2 separate regions of the Homo sapiens genome follow, and region 2 is linked to region 1. The links are contacts of gene promoters, found by promoter capture Hi-C in human tissues and cell types (Jung and others, 2019). All regions are on one chromosome and are shown on one strand. Each heading gives the region's core, a stretch centred on a gene start or on the middle of the fragment in contact. The rest is flanking DNA. Distances are from core to core; before and after follow the strand shown.

Region 1 (4,512 bases), core at 1,473-3,972:
ATGGTCTCGATCTCTTGACCTCATGATCCACCCGCCTTGGCCTCCCAAAGTGCTGGGATTACAGGCGTGCGCCACCACGCCCAGCCTCTACAAAAAATTTAAAAATTGAGCTAGGCGTAGTGGTACATGCTTGTAGTCCCAGCTACTCAGGAGGCTGAGGCAAGAGGATGGATTGAATGCAGGAACTTGAGGCTGCAGTAAGACGTGAATCATGCCACTGCACACCAGCGTGGGTGACAGAGCAAGACCCCGTCGCAAATAAAATAAAATAAAATAAAAATATAGGCCAGGCGCGGTGGTTCACACCTGTAATTCCAGCACTTGGGAAGGCCGAGGTGGGAGGATAACTTGAGGTCAGGAGTTCGAGACCAGCCTGGCCAACACAGTGAAATCCCGTCTCTACTAAAAACACAAAAAGTAGCCGGGTGTGGTGGCACACGCCTATAATCCCAGCTACTCAGGAGGCTGAAGCAGGAGAACTGCATGAACCCAGGAGGTGGAGGCTACAGTGAGCTGAGATCACACCACTGTACTCCAGCCTGGGCGACAGAGCAAGACTCCGTCTCAAAAAATATATACATACATATATTTATATATTATGTGCTTTATATTTTATATTTATTATATATAATACATTGTATTATATAATATGTATAAAAATATATCAAAGTAATGCATGTTGCTTGGTTTAAAAAGCCAATGGGAGGCCGGGTGTGGTGGCTCACACCTGTAATCCCAGCACTTTGGGAGGCCAAGGCGGGTGGATCATGAGGTCAAGAGATCGAGACCATTCTGGCCAACATGGTGAAACCCCATCTCTGCCAAAAAATACGAATATTAGCTGGGCATGGTGACGCGTGCCTGTAGTCCCAGCTACCTGGGAGGTTGAGGTGGGAGAATCTGAACCCGGGCGACGGAAGTTTGCAGTGAGCTGAGATCGAGTCACTTCACTCCAGTCTGGGCGACAGTGAGACTCTGTCTCAAAAACAAAACAAAACAACGACACAAAAAAGCCACTGGGAAGACTTATTTTTATTTATTTATTTATTTATTTATTTATTTATATTTTTGAGACGGAGTCTCGCTCTGTCTCCCAGGCTGGAGTGCAGTGGCACAATCTCGGCTCACTGCAAGCTCCACCTCCCGGGTTCACTCCATTCTTCTACCTCAGCCTCCCGAGTACCTGGGACTACAGGTGCACGCTGCCACGCCCGTAAGTTTTTGTATTTTTAGTAGAGATGGGGTTTCACCATGGTAGCCAGGATGGTCTCGATCTCCTGACCTCGTGATCCGCCCGCCTCGGCCTCCCAAAGTGCTGGGATTACAGGCGTGAGCCACCGCGCCCGGCCACCACTGGGAAGACTTATAATAAAAGGTTACAGTTCCTTGCCACATCCTCCCCACCCCAGCCCCACCTCCAGTCTATCTTCCCAGGGACAATCTATTTATTTGCTTTTTTTTTTTTTTTTTTTAAAGTTGTGTGTGTGTCTGTATTTTAATATTGATCCGGGGTCTCACTATGTTGCCCAGGCTCGTCTTGAGCTCCTGAGCTCAAGCAATCTGCTGCCTCAGCCTCCCAAAGTGCTGGGATTTACAGGCATGAGCCACTGAGCCCGGCCTTATTTGCATTATTTTTAGGCATGGAAAAGACGTAAACGGTTTGGGGAAAGCATATTTTAAATAGCTAAGATTCTGCACTTAGATCACTTTGGAAGTGTCCTTATGTGCCTGCTTTGCTTTTAGAGTTAACTAATGCACCAGCTTAATAGTCGCCTGGTTGAAAATTCTAAAAGTACAAAAAATTTACAGTAAAAAGTCTTCCCCTAACTCCTGTCCCCAGTGACACAGTTCCTCTCCCTGGGGACCTTCCTTGTTACCAGTTCTTGTTATCATTCTACAGGTGTCCTGTTTTACTGTTTCATTTTTAATTATTGTCATGGTTTCCTCCATGTCTCTCTATAAATTGTGCTTATGATGTTGTTATCGCTTCATATATCAACTCTAGCCTATCTATCTTCCTGCTGTGACCTTGATATGGCGACTTACTCCTTAAGTCCTTCTGAACTGCATCAATTTTTTTCAACCACTGATCAGTATTATTTTTTGAAAAATTAAAAATGGTTAAACTCGTTAAAGGGAGTTTATGTAACATCAAACAAACCAATAAACAAAACTTACTCTACGAGAATGGAGTACTAATATTTGGATTAAACCAGAGTTTTCATGTTAATTTAGAGAAATTCACAGCCTGATGCCCAGACACTACACTCCGGGCGTGGGCATACACGCCTTGCCTGTCCGGGAACGGCCGTCAACGCCCTTTTAAAAAAGACAGCGCCCACCCAGGACCCCGCCCCCTGGTGGTTAAAGATGTAAACTAAGCCTCGTACTGCAACCTCCCCTTAAAGGGGAAACCCATTTCTGTCGTCTAAAAAGGGAGCAGTGGCTGCACCGCCTTTCCTTAAGGTAAAACTCGGCGCCCCTCTAGTTAAAAGGGTAAAGTACGCGCTGGGCCCCACCTCACCTGCGCGGTTACTTTGTACTCGGTGTAGCCCTTGGGGTGAGTCCTGGGGTCCGACACTGTGTAGTGCCGCAGGAAGTCATCCTTCGCCTGGCGGGACATGAAACCGAGCTGGAGCGGAGCGGAGCGCCGGCCTCCACCTCCTCGCCGTCCCCACCCCTCCGGCCCAGCCTCCGCCCGCCGCCGCCTCGCCAGGCCTGCGCTCTTCTTCCTCTGGCCTAGGGATTTTGTCGCAAGTGACAGCGCTGTTCCGATCCCGGGTGCGCGGCCAAGGGAGCGTCTGAAAAGTTCCTTCTCTGTGGTGAAGCGTAAACCCAGGTCACTGGAAAGATTGGTTGGGAAGGCTGGGATCACTCGTCTCATTTCTGCCGGGTGATCAAGCCCACCCTATCCAAGCGTAAACCCTTGTCACAGACTTCCAAACGACTTCTCCCCGCTTCCTAAATCCCTGCTTTCGTTCATCCACCCAACTCTTATTGTGTCCAGTATGTACAGGACAACGTCAAATTATTTCCCTGTCTCCCTCCACAGGATTCCCTAATTCATGTTTTCTGGAAAGTAGAGGAAGCAAAGAAGGTTGGAGAAGCAGGATGGTGTCATGGGCTCTGAGTCACGACTCTTACTAGCTGTAGGAGTTTCCCTTAACTACTCAGCCTCAGTTTCTCATCTGTAGAATGGAGATGTTTATAATAGAATCTGTGTAGGGCAGTGGAGCTTTTTTGCGATGGGTTTGCTGCCAGAACACAGGTGTCGTGAAAACCACCGTTAAATCAAAGCCAAAATGGGGGTTTGGCGCGGTGGTTCACGCCTGTAATCCCAGCATTTTGGGCAGTGGAGGCAGGTGGATCACTTGAGGTCAGGAGTTCAAGACCAGCCTGGCCAACATGGTGAAACCCCGTTTCTACTAAAAATACAAAAATTAGCTGGGCGTGGTGGCGCACGCCTGTAATTCCAGCTACTCCAGGGGCTGAGCTGGCTGATGGCTTCAGCCCAGGAGGTTGAGGCTGCAGTGAGCTGCAATCACACCACTGCACTCCAGCCTGGGCAACAGAGTGAGACTCCATCTCAAAAGAAAGGGAGCAGGGGAGGGAAAAGACTCAGCTCAACATCATCATCTGATTTGGGCAAGTCCAGCACTACTGGCCATCTGATCTACAAGTGTGGTGGGATCCACAAAAGAACCATCGACAATTTTGAGGAAGCTGCTGAGATGGGAAAGGGCTCCTTCAAGCATACCTGGGTCTTGGGTAAGCTGAAAGTTGAACGTGAGAGTGGTATCACCACTGATACCTCCCTGCTGGCAATTGAGACCAGCAAGTACTATGTGACCATCCTCAATGGCCCAGGATGCAGAGACTTTATCAAAAACCTGACCTCAGGCTAATTGTGCTGTCCTGATTGTTGCTGCTGGTGTTGATGAATTTGAAGCTGGTAATTCCAAGAATGGGCAGACGCGTGAGCACACCCTTCTGTCTTACACGCTGGGTGTGAAACTAATTGTTGGTGTTAACAAAATGGATCCCAATGAGCCACCCTAAAGAGGAGAGATGGGGGCCGGGCGTGGTGGCTCACGCCTGTAATCCCAGCAGTTTGGGAGGCAGAGGTGGGTGGATTAGGAAGTCAGGAGTTCAAGACCAGCCTGACCAAGATGGTGAAACCCCGTCTCTACTAAAAATACAAAAATTAGCTGGGCATGGTGGCGGGTGCCTGTAATCCCAGCTACTTGGGAGGCTGAGGCAGAGAATTGCCTGAAACCAGGAGGCAGAGGTTGCAGTGAGCTGAGATCGTGCCACTGCACTCCAGCCTGGGAGACAGAGGACAGAGTGAGACTCCGTCTCAAAAAAAAAAAAAAAAAAAAAAGGAGAGATGGGAGAAATCATTAAGGAAATCAGCACCTACATTAAGAAATTGGCTACAACTCTGACATAGTAGTATTTGTGCCAATATCTGGTTGGAGTGGTCACAACAGGCGGGAGCCAAGAGCTCACATG
Region 2 (4,512 bases), core at 1,079-3,578, 1.3 Mb before region 1:
CAGAGCGAGAAAATGCAGGAAGATCCAGTGGTCAAGGAGCCCCAGGGGGCGGTGTGGGGTGGGGTGAGATGGTCAAGGACTCTGGTACTTGAGCTGAGCCCTGGAGAAGGTAAAGAAGCAGAGCATTTTTATATTGGAGGAAGAGCATTCCAGGCAGCAGGAACAGCCAAGACCAAGGCTGTGAGGCAGAGTGTCTGGAGCATTTAAGGAACAGCAATGAGGCCAGAGTTTGGAGGCAGATGACATAGACCAGGAGGCCATGGCAAGGACTGTGGCCCTTCCTCTAAGCGAGATGGGGGGCTCAGAGGGTTCTGAATGGAGAAGTGATCAGATCTGACTTGGATTTTGAAAGGATCCCTCTGGCAGGATGGAGAGGGCAAGAGAGACACCACGGGAGAGGCTGTTGGGGAAATCTAGATTGGCGTTGCTAGCCACCTGGGCCGGGGGTGGGTGGCAAAGAAGGTGTCCAGGAGTGGTCAGATTCTGGATCTCTTTTGAAAGTGAAGCCAACAGGATTTGCTGAGAGACTGGATGTGGGCTGTGGGAGAAAGAGAGGAGTCAAGCATGACCTCAAGGTTTGGGGCCTGAGCCAACAGAAGGATGAACTCCTCCATCTTGACTTTTGTCTCCTGAGAAGGGGAGTCATTCTGTGTGCTTCACATGTATAGACCTTGTAAGAAGGAACTTCCAGGCATATGGCAAGAACTTCCTAAGCCCTGGTTCTCGAGGGGCTGGCTGGGTCTGCAGGGCCAGCCTAGGCACTGTAAGGTGGTTTGCAAAAACGCACCCTGGTCTCCACCCACCACATATGCTCAGAAGACAGGAACATTTGCTTCAGGCTCCACAGCTGACAAAGCACATTTGCAAACACTGAGCGCTGTGACGCAATATCTCAGCCCTGCTGAGCTAAAAATCCTGGACTCATTGCCCTCATGTTGCAACTGAGAAAAAAGGAGACCCAGAGAGGGCCAGTGACTCCCCTGCAGTCACAAAGTCGATCCATCTGTGGCAGAGGGGGAAGCTGCATCAGGGCAGTTTACTGAAGGGCGGAACCTCTCCCCCACCTCCCCACACTGTTTCTAACTTCTGCTAAGAGTGCAGCGGGTGTGCATGGGTTAATCCGCCAGCCAGCTCCCCAGAGGCCATCCTGGATGATGGGCTCAGTGCACATGCCTCCAGAGGCCTCCAGGAAGGGCGGGAAGAGGACCCTGGCCAGGCCGAAACAGCAGGCCCCGGGGGCAGGGAGGGCTCCACACACGTGATGCCTGTGTCACATATACACATATATGTCACTGTGTGCCCCATGCCCATACATGGCCTTGCATGGGTCCCCTCACAGCCTTCCACATCCTGCGTGCAGCCCAGCCCCCACCCAGCCCCCTAAACCACGCACCCTGCCTTCCTGACGCAGGAGCCCAGAGAGGCATTTCCTGTTTAGGGGCTGCCTCCTCCCCCTCTAAGCCCAGGTTCCCAGGGCCCCAGGCTGAGCTGGGGTGAGGGGAGGGCAGCCCCTGGCCCCCTCACTCCCCCAACACCCCCACACGCTGGCCCAGCTGGAACCAGAAAGCTTGAGTATAGGGGGAGAGGCTGACGCAGGGGCTCAGTAAATAAATGAGAGGCTGAGGATGCCTGTGCCTGGGTGACCAAGCTGTTTCCATTCAGGCCGAATCGGAGGTCTTCATATGTCAGGCCATGTAGAATGCCACACCATTTTTGTATGTGCACCTAGGGTCTCAGCATGTCAGAATGTGTGTACGTGTGGCAAGGGAGTCATCTGCAAGCCAGCATAGGTCCACGGTGAGGTGAAGGGACAAACAGCTTGGCAGAGAGTGCACTCTTGCATGGGGTTGGGGGTGGGGGAGGCGCATGCGCGCGTCTGTGGGGCAAGAAAGGAGTGGGCATGAGGGTGTTCCCGTGCATGGCGAGCAGCTGGGCTGAGACTGCTCCCGGGTGTGATGGGGCTGCTGTGTCCAGATTTGGGTCTCTGAGTCTCTGGGAAGCGACCTCACCCCACAGCCCCGAGCCCCAACTTGAGGGTCACAGAGCTCGGCAGGCAGGCTTTTCCCACCCCCTGACTCTCAGCCCCATGGGGCCTGGGGCAGCCGTCAACTGCGCCTTCTCCCCTCCTCCGCCCCCAACCTTAGAGCCCCCCACCCCACTGCTTCCTGCTCTAGCGGCCCCCGGGGAAGAGGGAGCAGGGAGCTGGCAGCCGCCCCAGCCCACTCCTTACAAGGCCTGAGCCCGGCCCCAGGCCCGCCCCCGGCCCGCCCGCAGGAGGCCCCAGGCCCTCCCCCTGTCAAGAGCTGCCGCCAGCCCGGGGCCGGACCAGTCCGGGGGCATCGCGATGCTGCTGCGCCTGTTGCTGGCCTGGGCGGCCGCAGGGCCCACACTGGGCCAGGACCCCTGGGCTGCTGAGCCCCGTGCCGCCTGCGGCCCCAGCAGCTGCTACGCTCTCTTCCCACGGCGCCGCACCTTCCTGGAGGCCTGGCGGGCCTGCCGCGAGCTGGGGGGCGACCTGGCCACTCCTCGGACCCCCGAGGAGGCCCAGCGTGTGGACAGCCTGGTGGGTGCGGGCCCAGCCAGCCGGCTGCTGTGGATCGGGCTGCAGCGGCAGGCCCGGCAATGCCAGCTGCAGCGCCCACTGCGCGGCTTCACGTGGACCACAGGGGACCAGGACACGGCTTTCACCAACTGGGCCCAGCCAGCCTCTGGAGGCCCCTGCCCGGCCCAGCGCTGTGTGGCCCTGGAGGCAAGTGGCGAGCACCGCTGGCTGGAGGGCTCGTGCACGCTGGCTGTCGACGGCTACCTGTGCCAGTTTGGCTTCGAGGGCGCCTGCCCGGCGCTGCAAGATGAGGCGGGCCAGGCCGGCCCAGCCGTGTATACCACGCCCTTCCACCTGGTCTCCACAGAGTTTGAGTGGCTGCCCTTCGGCTCTGTGGCCGCTGTGCAGTGCCAGGCTGGCAGGGGAGCCTCTCTGCTCTGCGTGAAGCAGCCTGAGGGAGGTGTGGGCTGGTCACGGGCTGGGCCCCTGTGCCTGGGGACTGGCTGCAGCCCTGACAACGGGGGCTGCGAACACGAATGTGTGGAGGAGGTGGATGGTCACGTGTCCTGCCGCTGCACTGAGGGCTTCCGGCTGGCAGCAGACGGGCGCAGTTGCGAGGACCCCTGTGCCCAGGCTCCGTGCGAGCAGCAGTGTGAGCCCGGTGGGCCACAAGGCTACAGCTGCCACTGTCGCCTGGGTTTCCGGCCAGCGGAGGATGATCCGCACCGCTGTGTGGACACAGATGAGTGCCAGATTGCCGGTGTGTGCCAGCAGATGTGTGTCAACTACGTTGGTGGCTTCGAGTGTTATTGTAGCGAGGGACATGAGCTGGAGGCTGATGGCATCAGCTGCAGCCCTGCAGGGGCCATGGGTGCCCAGGCTTCCCAGGACCTCGGAGATGAGTTGCTGGATGACGGGGAGGATGAGGAAGATGAAGACGAGGCCTGGAAGGCCTTCAACGGTGGCTGGACGGAGATGCCTGGGATCCTGTGGATGGAGCCTACGCAGCCGCCTGACTTTGCCCTGGCCTATAGACCGAGCTTCCCAGAGGACAGAGAGCCACAGATACCCTACCCGGAGCCCACCTGGCCACCCCCGCTCAGTGCCCCCAGGGTCCCCTACCACTCCTCAGTGCTCTCCGTCACCCGGCCTGTGGTGGTCTCTGCCACGCATCCCACACTGCCTTCTGCCCACCAGCCTCCTGTGATCCCTGCCACACACCCAGCTTTGTCCCGTGACCACCAGATCCCCGTGATCGCAGCCAACTATCCAGATCTGCCTTCTGCCTACCAACCCGGTATTCTCTCTGTCTCTCATTCAGCACAGCCTCCTGCCCACCAGCCCCCTATGATCTCAACCAAATATCCGGAGCTCTTCCCTGCCCACCAGTCCCCCATGTTTCCAGACACCCGGGTCGCTGGCACCCAGACCACCACTCATTTGCCTGGAATCCCACCTAACCATGCCCCTCTGGTCACCACCCTCGGTGCCCAGCTACCCCCTCAAGCCCCAGATGCCCTTGTCCTCAGAACCCAGGCCACCCAGCTTCCCATTATCCCAACTGCCCAGCCCTCTCTGACCACCACCTCCAGGTCCCCTGTGTCTCCTGCCCATCAAATCTCTGTGCCTGCTGCCACCCAGCCCGCAGCCCTCCCCACCCTCCTGCCCTCTCAGAGCCCCACTAACCAGACCTCACCCATCAGCCCTACACATCCCCATTCCAAAGCCCCCCAAATCCCAAGGGAAGATGGCCCCAGTCCCAAGTTGGCCCTGTGGCTGCCCTCACCAGCTCCCACAGCAGCCCCAACAGCCCTGGGGGAGGCTGGTCTTGCCGAGCACAGCCAGAGGGATGACCGGTGGCTGCTGGTGGCACTCCTGGTGCCAACGTGTGTCTTTTTGGTGGTCCTGCTTGCACTGGGCATCGTGTACTGCACCCGCTGTGGCCCCCATGCACCCAACAAGCGCATCAC

The links. Contacts are between HindIII fragments. The study calls those that stand out against the background at their distance.
Region 2: a contact is called between the fragment with the promoter of CD248 here and the fragment with the promoter of SNX15 in region 1, in 1 of the 25 tissues and cell types used here (spleen).

The regions. Positions count from the first base shown.
Region 1 is chr11:65,025,649-65,030,160 of GRCh38, reverse strand. It overlaps SNX15 (sorting nexin 15), which reads right to left and starts at 2,722. Exons shown (of 8, transcript NM_013306.5): 1 at 2,525-2,722. The coding sequence starts at 2,623. It overlaps ARL2-SNX15 (ARL2-SNX15 readthrough (NMD candidate)), which reads right to left. Exons shown (of 11, transcript NR_037650.2): 4 at 2,525-2,843. It also overlaps the pseudogene EEF1A1P18. RefSeq lists a silencer at 2,591-2,760 and an enhancer at 2,610-2,904. The HindIII fragment of the contact is 29,710 bases long and covers 1-4,512 here.
Region 2 is chr11:66,314,860-66,319,371 of GRCh38, reverse strand. It overlaps CD248 (CD248 molecule), which reads left to right and starts at 2,328. Exons shown (of 1, transcript NM_020404.3): 1 at 2,328-4,512. The coding sequence starts at 2,345. RefSeq lists enhancers at 1-326, 2,883-3,579 and a silencer at 2,130-2,399. The HindIII fragment of the contact is 8,045 bases long and covers 1-4,512 here.